Regions from separate parts of the Homo sapiens genome. Here region 2 is linked to region 1. Evidence: promoter capture Hi-C in human tissues and cell types (Jung and others, 2019). All regions are on one chromosome and are shown on one strand. The core of a region is centred on a gene start or on the middle of the fragment in contact, and the rest is flanking DNA. Distances in the headings are between cores, read along the strand shown.

The links. Contacts are between HindIII fragments. The study calls those that stand out against the background at their distance.
Region 2: a contact is called between a fragment that was not itself captured here and the fragment with the promoter of MSH2 in region 1, in 1 of the 25 tissues and cell types used here (hippocampus).

Annotation. Positions count from the first base shown.
Region 1 is chr2:47,398,385-47,404,957 of GRCh38, forward strand. It overlaps MSH2 (mutS homolog 2), which reads left to right and starts at 4,772. Exons shown (of 16, transcript NM_000251.3): 1 at 4,772-5,018. The coding sequence starts at 4,808. RefSeq lists enhancers at 4,459-4,508, 4,513-5,223, 5,224-5,932, 5,299-5,358. The HindIII fragment of the contact is 21,211 bases long and covers 1-6,573 here.
Region 2 is chr2:47,161,848-47,167,711 of GRCh38, forward strand. It overlaps CALM2 (calmodulin 2), which reads right to left. Exons shown (of 6, transcript NM_001743.6): 3 at 672-815; 4 at 439-545; 5 at 1-11. Among named protein-coding and RNA genes, the nearest start is that of STPG4, 9.5 kb to the left of the region's middle. The HindIII fragment of the contact is 6,403 bases long and covers 431-5,864 here.

The sequences.
Region 1 (6,573 bases), core at 3,522-6,021:
AAACAAAGGATACTGTTAAAACAGTTTCAGCTGGGCGCAGTGGCTCACACCTGTAATCCCAGCACTTTGGGAGGCCGAGTTGGGTGGATCATGAGGTCAGGAGATCGAGACCATCCTGGCTAACACGGTGAAACCCCGTCTCTACTAAAAATACAGAAAAATTAGCCGGGAGTGGTGGCAGGCGCCTGGGAAGGCTGAGGCAGTAGAATGGAGTGAACCCAGGAGGCGGAGCTTGCAGTGAGCCGAGATCACACCACTGGAGTCCAGCCTGGGCGACCGAGCGAGACTCCGTCTCAAAAAACAAACAAACAAACAAACAAAAAAAGTTTCTTAGACAAATTGATTACAATTGCATATCAAATTTTAATTTCAAGCTTATTTCCTTTCCAAGCAGGCTAAATATTCCTCTTAGACATTTTGTAAAAAAGAAGCATATTAGAATCATCAGTATTAGCCTGGAGAAAGCAAACAATGTCTGGAATTATTAGCTATCTTCTAAGTCTAGTTAAAGGTAACTGTCTTGTGCCAAGACTGACAGTGAGCTAAATGAACTGTTTTTTTTTGAGACAGGATCTTGCTCTGCTGCCCAGGCTGGAGTGCAGTGGTGCTATCATAGCTCAATGCAGCCTTAAACACCTGGACTTAAGGAATTTTTCCACCTCGGCCTCCCAAGGATTACAGGTACATGCCTGGCTGGTTTTTTAAACTTTTTTTTTTTTTTTTGAGACAGAATCTTGCTCTGTTGCCCCCACTGGAGTGAAGTAGTGTGATCTTGGCTCACTGCAACCCCCACCTCCCGGGCTGAAGCTATCCTCCTGCCTCAGCCTCCCAAGCAAATAGAACTACAGGCATGTGCCACCAAGCCTGACTAATTTTTGCATTTTTAGTAGAGACAAGGTTTCACCATGTTGCTCAGGCTGGTCTTGAACTCCTGAGCTTAAGCGATCCTCCCACCTCAGCCTACCAAAGTGCTGGTATTACAGGCATGAGTCGCTGTGCCTGCCTTACAGTTTTTTGTAGAGATGAGATCTTGCTATGTTGCCAGGCTGGTCTCCAACTCCTGGGCTCAAGTGCTCCTCTGGCTTCAAGTCTTCTAAAATGTTGGGACTACAGGCATGAGGTACCATGCCTGGCCAGCTCATTAAAGTGTATCAGAAATGGTAGTAGCTTCTCTAAAGGGATAGCACATGACATCAGACTATAATACTCAGGTTTGAGGCTGGGTGTGGTGGCTCACACCTGTAATCCCAGCACTTTGGGAGGCCGAGGTGGGCGGATCACTTGAGATCAGGAGTTCCAGACCAGCCTGGCCAACGTTGTAAAACTCATCTCCACAAAAATTACAAAAATTAGCCAGGTGTGATGGTGTGCACTTGTAGTCCCAGCTATTTGGGAGGCTGAGGCAGGAGAATCACTTGAAACCAGGGCGGGTGGAGGTTGCAGTCAGCCGAGATTGTGCCACTGTACTCCAGCCTGGGAGACAGAGCGAGACTCTGAAAAAAATAAAAATATAAATATAAAATAAATAAAACTCAGGTCAGAAACACATCTTCTTTCTCAGTATACAGTCTTGCTGCAGATTCTGTAAGCACACAGACGGTTAAGCATACAGAATCTGGAAGAAGACTGGATTCTAGATCTATCACTTACTAGCTCTGTGATCTGGCGCAAGGCCAGGCAATTGAATTTTAATCTGTAGGCCCGAGATTTCTTTCTTTTTTTTTTTCTATGGAGACGGAGTCTCGCTCTGTCGCCCAGGCTGGAGTGTAATGGCGTGGTCTCGGCTCACTGCAACCTCTGCCTCCCGGATTCAAGCGATTCTCCTGTCTCAGCCTCCTGAGTAGCTGGGATTACAGGTGCCTGCCACCATGCCAGGGTAATTTTTGTATTTTTAGTAGAGACGGGGTTTCACCATGTTGGCCAGGCTGATCTTGACCCGCTGACCTCGGCCTCCCAAAGTGCTGGGATTACAGGCGTGAGCCACTGTGCCCACCAGAGATTTCTAAATTGAGCTGATTGTCAGGAACATCCAGGGAGCTTTCAAAAATGATTCCAGGCTGAGGCTGGGCGGGGTGGCTCATGCCTGTAATCTCAGCACTTGGGGAGGCCGAGGTGGGTGGATCACCGGAGGTTGGGAGTTTGAGACCAGCCTGACCAACTTGGAGAGACCCTATCTCTACTAAAAATACAAAAATTAGCTGGGCGTGGTGGCGCATGCCTGTAATCCCAGCTACTCAGAAGGCTGAGGCAGGAGAATTGCTTGAACCCAGGAAGTGGAGGTTGCAGTGAGCTGAGATTGTGCCATTGCACTCCAGCCTGGGCAACAAGAGCGAAACTCCATCTCAAAAAACAAACAAACAAACAAACAAAAAACAAAACCAAAAAAAAAAAAAATGATTCCAAGCTGGGCATGGTGGCTCACACCTGTAATCCCAGCACTTTGGGAGGCCGAGGCGGGCAGAACAGGAGGTCAAGAGATCGAGACCAGACCATCCTGGCCAACACAGTGAAACCCCGTCTCTCCTAAAAATACCAAAATTAGCTGGGGGTGGTGGTGCACACCTGTAGTCATAGCTACTTGGGAAGCTGAGGCAGGAGGATCGCCTGAACCCGGGAGGCAGTGAGCCGAGATTGCGCCACTGCACTCCAGTGTGGTGACAGAGCCAGACTTCCTCTCAAAAAAACAAACAAAGGTTCCAAGGCTCTACTCCAGAAATTAAGACCCATTATGTGTGGGCTGGGCACAGGAATATGTTTAAATCCCCCCCCACCTCCCCAGGGTGATTCTGCTGCTGAATTAGGTTTTGGAACCACTTCCATGGGGAAAGGGTAAACTAAACTGGAGAATGCAAAAACCTTTTTTTTTTTTTTTTTTTTTTTTGAGACAGAGTCTCACCCTGTTGCCCAGGCTGGAGTGCAATGGCGCGACCTCGGCTCACTGCAACCTCCACCTCCCAGGTTCAAGGGATTCTCCTGCCTCAGCCTCCCAAGTAGCTGGGATTACAGGTGCCCACCACTACACCCGGCTAATTTTGTGTGTGTTTTTAGTAGAGACGGAGGTTCACCATGTTAGTCAGGCTGGTCTCGAACTCCTGACCTCAGGTGATCTGCCCGCCTCGGCCTCCCAAAGTGCTGGGATTACAGGCGTGAGCCACCGCGCCCGGCCAGCAAAAACCTTTTCTAAGAGTTAATTTTGCAGGATGGATCCTGAGCTCCTTCAGGTGTTTGATAACATTTTATTTATTTTTTGAGACAGAGTCTCGCTCTGTCACCGAGGCTGGAGTGTAGTGGCGCGATCTTCGCTCACTGCCCCCTCCACCTCCCAGGTTCAAGAGATTCTCCTGCCTCAGCCTCTCGAGTAGCTGTGATTACAGGCGCCCACCACTATGCCCGGTAATTTTTGTATTTTTAGTAGAGACGGGGTTTCGCCATGTTGGCCAGGCTGGTCTCAAACTCCGGACCTCAGGTGATCCACCCGCGTTGGCCTCCCAATACGCTGGGATTACAGGCGTGAGCCACTGCGCCTGGCTGTTTGCTAACATTTTAAAATTTCAACCTTCCTCTTCCTTAACTGGTCTTCCCCTACCCCCCCTCAAGACGGGGTCTCTCGCTCTGTCGCCCCAGCTGCGGTGCAGTGGCGTGAACATAGCTGACGGCAGAAGACCTCCTGGGCTCAAACGATCCTCCTGGCTCGTGCTCCCAAAGTACTGGGATTATGGCGTGTGACACCACGCCTGGCGTCAAACGTTTGTCTTTTTATTTATTTTATTTTGTATTTTTTGAGACAGGGTTTTCAATCTGTCGCCCACGCTGGAGTGCAGTGGCACAATTTACGGCTCACCGCAGCCTCGACCTCCCGGGCTCAGGTGATCCTTTCGCCTCAGCCCTGCTAATATCTGGGATCACAGACGTGGGTTTTACCATGTTGCCCAGGATGGTGTCAATCTCCTGGGCTCAAGTGATCCGCCCACCTCGGCCTCCCAAATTGCTGGGATTACAGGCGTGAGCTACCGCGCCCTGCCACAAACGCATATCTTCTAACGTACCATTTCATTTACTTGCTATATTCATTATCTGAATTTTCTCATATTAGAATGTAAGCAGAATAAAGGCAGTGATTTTTCTTTTTACTGGCGATCCTCAGAGCCAAGAAGAGTCTGGGACATAGCAGGCCATATAAATGTTTTCGAATGAGTGAATCATCAACGAGTGGATGAAACGATAATGTGGCTAACAGGCAGCAGTAAGGAGGCTGTGTAGAATAAACCCGTAATCCCGATGTTGGCAGTTTGCTTAGAAAGAAAAAGGGAGGCAGTCGGAGAGGGGCACACGTTTTAACAAAATACTGGGAGGAGGAGGAAGGCTAGTTTTTTTTTTGTTTTCAAGTTTCCTTCTGATGTTACTCCCATGCTTCCGGGCACATTACGAGCTCAGTGCCTGCCGGAAATCTCCCACCTGGTGGCAACCTACCCTTGCATACACCCCACCCAGGGGCTTCAAGCCTTGCAGCTGAGTAAACACAGAAAGGAGCTCTACTAAGGATGCGCGTCTGCGGGTTTCCGCGCGACCTAGGCGCAGGCATGCGCAGTAGCTAAAGTCACCAGCGTGCGCGGGAAGCTGGGCCGCGTCTGCTTATGATTGGTTGCCGCGGCAGACTCCCACCCACCGAAACGCAGCCCTGGAAGCTGATTGGGTGTGGTCGCCGTGGCCGGACGCCGCTCGGGGGACGTGGGAGGGGAGGCGGGAAACAGCTTAGTGGGTGTGGGGTCGCGCATTTTCTTCAACCAGGAGGTGAGGAGGTTTCGACATGGCGGTGCAGCCGAAGGAGACGCTGCAGTTGGAGAGCGCGGCCGAGGTCGGCTTCGTGCGCTTCTTTCAGGGCATGCCGGAGAAGCCGACCACCACAGTGCGCCTTTTCGACCGGGGCGACTTCTATACGGCGCACGGCGAGGACGCGCTGCTGGCCGCCCGGGAGGTGTTCAAGACCCAGGGGGTGATCAAGTACATGGGGCCGGCAGGTGAGGGCCGGGACGGCGCGTGCTGGGGAGGGACCCGGGGCCTTGTGGCGCGGCTCCTTTCCCGCCTCAGAGAGTGGGCGGTGAGCAGCCTCTCCAGTGCGGAGGCACGGGGGCGGAACGTTGGTGCTTGTGCGGATTCCGCCGTCCCCAGGTTCTGCTTGGCTCCGGAGGGACGCCCCCCTCAGCCCTGAAACCCGTGCCTCTCCAGCCGCCCCGGATCTGAACTTGTGATCACGGAGTGTTTACGTCGTGCCAGGCATTTTAATGCATTGTTCTAGTTCATTTTCCAGCAGTCGCATTCCTCGCCTTGGCCCTACATGTAGCGCTCATTACAAACACGGCCAGAATCTCTTATTAACAAACAGCAGCCAGGAGTGAGATTTAAAATAGACTGGGGGTTTAGGAGACCCTTTTATGACACGTAATTCTGCTCCCACGACGCTCCCATTTATACCGCCGGTCCAGCTAAGGGTCTGGTAATGGAGCGCCGTTGAAGAGCAGTATGATGAAGTGGTCAGGACCAACGGACTCTGGAGCTGGGCTGCTTGGGATCAAGTCGCTGCCCCTCTGCTTATTAACGTGTGACCTTGGGCCAGTCATGGACGCTATCTGCTTCAGCTCAGCATTCAGTGCTCTCCGTCACCCGACCCCATCTATCCAGGATTATCTCTCCCTGGAAAGCTACAAACGTCTCACCCTATGTGGGCCAAATGTTCTGGATAGGCCTAGTTAACCTCTTCTCTCCCTGTTTTCTTTGCGCTTTCTTGCAGCTATGTAGTTATGCTAATGAAAAGAGCATCCTAGGGGGAGCAGAGTTGTGGATTCTAGTCCTGACTAGAGGACTAGTGCAAATGCGATACTCCTGATGAAAAATGTTTCATTCGTTAGATATAAATGTGTTAGGCAGGGTTATGGACACTAGATGAAAAAAGAAATACCTCTACTTTCATAGAGATCACTATTGGACAGCAAGGCAGAAATAATTACAATTCAAGTTGGAGGCTTATGGAGGTGAGCTTGTAAGAGGTTACAAGAGGCGCCAAGGCAGGATCGCCAAAGACGGAAGACTTTGGAAGAGTCTCATACAACGGAAGAGGCGTTATATGAGACACCAAAGTCCACGTTGAGTCTTGGTGGACTAGAAGTTTGCTAGGGAGAGGGCTTGAAACGAGGTAGATTGGCGTTGCTGGTGTAGAAAAGGAAGGAGACTGGCCCAGGTGGGTGGGGTTAGATGACCAAAGGCTTTTAGTGTGGTGTTGAGCTGTTGAAATTTTATGCTGTAGCCAATGAAAAGTCTGAAATGTTTTTTTTTTTTTTTTTTCTGAGACGGAGTCTTACTGTGTCGCCCAGGTTGGAGTTCAGTGGTGTAATCCTGGCTCACTGCAACCTCCACCTCCTGGGTTCAAGCGATTCTCCTGCCTCAGCCACCGGAGTAGCTGGGATTACAGGCACGTGCCACCACGCCTAGCTAATTTTTGTATTTTTAGTAGAGATGGGGTTTCACCATGTTGGCCAGGCTGGTCTCAAACTCCTGACCTCAAGTGATCCACCCACC
Region 2 (5,864 bases), core at 2,382-4,881, 240 kb before region 1:
CCATTGCCATCCTAGCAAAAAATTTAGTATAGTTTCTGAGTCAAATTACAGACTTGAGAGTTGGAATGGAAATTTATTAAGTTTACTACTAAATTTCACATTGGGGGAAAAACATACTTTAGAAATGCATACAAATCTACACAGTTGACCTACAAATGTCATTAAGAGCCAAGCAAAATGTCCTACATTGAAATCATTATTTCCTAGTCCCAAAGTCAAGTGACACCTCCTTTGACAAGATGAACGCAATACATATATTAGAAAGTCTATACTGAATTCTTAAAAAGCTTTTGCTTGGTAATTAAAATATGTTGGTAAATCATCAAAAAAAAAAAAAAAAAAAAAAAAAAAAACAACCAAAAAAACACAAGTCTTCATAATGAGTCCTGGTATCTTCATTTCATCCTCAAAATTTAACATATCCAGTCCTTGACGTACCTTATCAAACACACGGAATGCTTCTCTAATTTCTTCTTCACTGTCTGTGTCTTTCATTTTTCTTGCCATCATTGTCAGAAATTCAGGGAAGTCAATTGTGCCATTACCTGAAATGGTTTAGTGGAAACATCAAAGCTTTAGTGGAAACATATAAGCAAACAGCAAAGGTTTAGTGGAAACATCTAAGTATCACTTCTTCAACCCCTCCCAGCCCCACAAAATTGAAGACTTACCATCAGCATCTACTTCATTAATCATGTCCTGTAACTCTGCTTCTGTGGGATTCTGCCCAAGAGATCTCATTACAGTTCCCAATTCCTTTGTTGTTATAGTTCCATCACCATCTTTGTCAAATAGTGAAAAAGCTTCTTTGAATTCTGTTTGAAAGAAAGACCACAATCCAAATACACAGATTAATAATAAAATGTAACCTAAATGAAACGTATTAACTCTTAAAGCCTACTCAGTGGTGGGATCGTGCCAGTGAACAGCCACTGCACTTCAGCCTGGCCAAACTGTAAGACCCCACGTCTCAGAAAAACCCAAAAACTTTTAACGGAAAAATACCAATGGAGGTAGCAATTGAAATGTGACTTTGACTCCTAAAGATTAACCAATCTTTATGATACCTTATGATAATATTTCAAATATATCTTTGACCAATCATACCACTGTACTTTCATGCTGACCTAAGTAAAATTATCCTAGGTTTACAGAGGAAAAGAACCAAATCCCCAAATGACTGGCTCCTCTGTCACTGAAGCTGCTCTGTGGAACATAATTCAAAATTACAGACCTAACCTACACTCACAAAACAAAAATAAGACTACTGGTACCCAAATACGTATTTCTACAGAGTAATTAAACTGTTTCTGTATACTGTGTTTAGAGTTAGCCACTATGTCTAAATCAATCACCTACTAAATTAAAACAGGCTACTTTCCCTTTCTAGTAAGGCAGGAGAAGGGACTATATAAAGAGTCTATAACAATGGGCTGATCAAGATATAAATGTCCAGTTTTAGCTAAATGCATGTCACTGAGAACAAAGATCATTTTGAGCTTTCTTTGGAATATTAAAACCCCAACCTTATATAGTGAAACTGATTATTCCTCAACATCTTGTTGTGATAGTATGTTCCTTCCTGCTGTTGTTTTTTTTTTTGAGATGGACTTTCGCTCTTGTTGTCCAGGCTGGAGTGCAATGGTGCAATCTCAGCCCACCGCAACCTCCTCCTCCCAGGATCAAGCAATTCTCCTGCCTCAGCCTCCCGAGTAGCTGGAATTACAGGCATGCACCACCACGCCCAGCTAATTTTCTATTTTTAGTAGAGATGGGGTTTCTCCACGTTGGTCAGGCTGGCCTCGAACTCCCAACCTCAGGTGATCCGCCTGTCTCTGCCTCCCAAAGTGCTGGGATTACAGGGCATGAGCCACTGTGCCCGGCTATATGTTCCTTCTAATACATCACTAGATTACATGGAAACCTCCTGCTGGTGCAACACTCCAGACTACCTGGCTTCATTCACCATTTACAGATAAACTAAAACAAGCCAGGTGCAGTGGCTCACACCTGTAATCCTAGCACTTTGGGAGGCCAAGGTGGGCAGACTGCCTGAGCTCAGGGTGAGTTCCAGACCAGCCTGAACAACAGGGTGAAACCCCGTCTCAGGCCGGGCGCGGTGGCTCAAGCCTGTAATCCCAGCACTTTGGGAGGCTGAGGCGGGTGGATCATGAGGTCAGGAGATCGAGACCATCCTGGCTAACACGGTGAAACCCCATCTCTACTAAAAATACAAAAAAATTAGCCGGGCGTGGTGGCGGGCGCCTATAGTCCCAGCTACTCGGGAGGCTGAGGCAGGAGAATGGCGTGAACCTGGGAGGCAGAGCTTGCAGTGAGCTGATATTGCGCCACTGCACTCCAGCCTGGGCGACAGAGCGAGACTCCGTCTCAAAAAAAAAAAAAAAGAAGAAAAAGAAAAGAAACCCCGTCTCTACTAAAACACACACACACACAAGCTGGGTGTGGCGGCGTGTGCCTGTAGTCCCCCGTCTCTACTAAAACACACACACACACACACACACACACACACACACACACACGCTGGGTGTGGCAGCGTGGGCCTGTAGTCCCCCGTCTCTATTAAAACACAAACACACACACAAGCTGGGTGTGGCGGCGTGCGCCTGTAGTCCCAGCTACTGGGGAGGCTGCAGCAGCAGAACTGCTTGAACCCGAGAGGCGGAGGTTGCAGTGAGCCGAGATCACACCACTGCACTCCAGCTTGGGCAACAGAGTGAGACTTGTCTCAAAAAAAAAAAAAGAAAGAAAGAAACTAAAACAGACTAACTTTGATACTGCAAAGTTATACCAATCAGTAAATAATAAAGCTAGTATTTTCCAAGTAAGTCATTTCCCAGAAAATATTAGACCCTATCAGCAAATGAATACAAAAAGTTTCCAAGTTCATTGGGCCATTAAGCTTTCCCAACATAGCCATACATTTGAAAATTTATGTGACACATGTGTAAGAAATGGTGTACCTTCTTTACGGTCCAAGGCCAATTTATTCCCTGCCTGCTTATCCCTAACTCCAATTCGCGTACACCTTCCAGTTTCATTCCGTATTACCTCTTCCCTGGACTCAACTATTCTTCCACTAATTTGCCCATTACCACATAAATATCTTCACATCGCTTAGCCTAAAACTAAATTGAAACCTTAGTTATATTTTAAATGCTTGCCCTTATCCCTCCCCAAATTTTGGAAGGCACTACTACTCATACCAATTTCCTCTCTCCAAACAATCCACTATTTTAAAATGACATCCAGCTCCAACTCATCACCTGAAAATGCTGAGTTTACCAATGACTACTAGTCAGTCACCCAATCCATCAAGCATGCTTCAATGTGAAGCCATATGGCATAGAAACTAAAATGAGACTTTGTAACTTGACTACTGGGTTAGAATTTCCTAGCTCTGTTTCTTCTTCTGGCAATGCAATATGGACAAGCTACTAAACCTTTTCTGCCTCAGCTTCCTCATTTCTGTGAAATGACATAAATGTGCCCAGTAAGTGGGGTGACACAGTATACCATGCCCACAAGGGGTATTCACCTGGTCACCCCCCATAAAAAAATTAGTATGTGTCAAACACTTAGAACTATGTCCAACAAATACATACTTAATAAATGTCAAGATAAAGACTATCTCATTTTTTTGCAGCATCCAAAACTGCATGGAAAAACTCTCAAAATTTTTCTTGGCCTTCGTAACAGTACTTTGATTTTCCTCCTACCATATACTGCCAAAGGCTCTTACTCCTGTCTCTTATGTCTAGATGTGACCAATTTTATCCTTTTTTTCCACTCCTTGGCCACTTCATCTATACCCACTTACAACGAAGATATCTTTAGTCTACCCATCTCGCTCAATAAATGTCTTTATTTCTGGCTGTCTACAGGATATAGCTCCCCTGGCTGATGACAAGCAAAACATATGAAAATGAATTCTATACTCCCAGGCAACCCTAAAGGTACTAGCAAAAGCCCAAGAGCCACTTTTAACTCTTTCAGTCTGAAATCTGTCAACAGGTCTCGAATTCTATCATTTAAATACTGCCTGATTTTTCCTCCATCTCTACAACCAGTATTTTGGTTCAAGGCTCCATCGTCCTTTGCCAGGGCTATTACAATTGCCTCCTAACTGCATTCTTTCTTATTTAAATATTACTGGTTTATAGAGGAACTCATCTAATACCAATCAGAAGGTTCATACCACACTAATTGATTTTATGAAGATAGTATACAGTGCTAACCTAGATCAACCTAATGACAAAAATAGATCAGGGAGTCTCCACCTACAAATAGCACAATTGATAAAGACATTTCAATTTTACTGTTTTTAAACAGAATGTAGAAATATCTAGAAATACATATATTGGAGTTCAGACACATTGCACCTTTCACCTAATTTAGGTTACAAGAAAATTAAAGGACTTTGAGGTATTTGTTTATATTACATTCTCTGCTATGGGTATCTTTTAACACCACCATTAGGTGCATAAATTCCCAATGTTTAATTAGCAGTAATCACCTTTCTATTACATGATTTAACAAAAAGCTAAATACTGGAAGATGCATAGTGTAAGACTATGTATAACTTTCGAGAAATTTAAAAATCTAATAACACTTAAAATGTTTGCTAGAATAAGTAAAATGCAGAAAATAAAACCGTATCTATGCTAATACCATTTGTTATTCATTCAAGAAAGGAACAAATAACATTTCTTTTAAAGGTCAAGGTTTATTCCAAATTTTTACTTGTATTTTTATACTAAAGAGTAAAAAATACCTGTAAAAACTCAAAATAATAAACCCCAAAGTAAAATTTTAATTCACCTGCCTTTACAGTTTTCCTGTACTTCAGAACTAGCGTAATCTTTATGTATAGAAGCATATAATTCTAAACTGTAACTCCCAGGAATGACCTGAAATTAAATCCAAGAGTCAAAACCTAAACACACAATAAAGAGAACAGGTCCTGAATGCCACAGAACAGCTATCTTCTACATAATTGATAGATATAAGGAACCTACCAAAATCCATTTTAGCTGACCAAACTGAAACTTTCAGAAAAATCTATTACTCAAGTTTTATTTGTTCATTAGCAACCCCAAGGCCCTTCCCTAATTAGTTTATTACCTAAACATATAATTTTATTAAAATAACATGTTTTAAAAATTTTATTAAAATAGGTTATCACAAGACAATTACAAAACAAATCAAATGACTGTTTATTAACTTCTATTTCTTCACAAAATTCTGAACTTAATAATCCCTTAAAGATCATGTACTGGAACTCTTTTGGCGCTTCATGCAGTTGTTGCTATACATTGAGTAATATTAATATTTTTCTCAAACAAATTTGGACCTTGAAAATTTAATGAAAGTTTAGGTACAGACTTCTTAAGGAAAAAATACTGTACATTTTTCCTATCAGTCTTCCAAAAGTCAAACAGCAACAACTAATGACATCATGGCAGAGTTATCAACAAAATGAAATTGTTAGTGATGTCATACTAGACTGGAATGCTTTATACGACCAAGTAATATAAAAAATTTTAGGCCGGGAGCAGTGGCTCATGCCTGTAATCCCAACACTTTGGGAGGTCAAGGTAAGCGGATCACCTGACGTCAGCAGTTCAAGACCAGCCTGGCCAACATGGTGAAACCCCATCTCTCCTAAAAATACAAAAACTAGCCGGGTGTGGTGGTGCACGCCTGTAATCCCAGCTACTTGGGAGACTGAGCCAGGAGAATTGCTTGAAGTTGGACAGCAAAGGTTGCAGTGAGCCAAGATCATGCTACTGCACTCCAGCCTGGGCAAGAGAGTGAAGCTCCGTCTCAAAAAAAAAAAAAAAAAA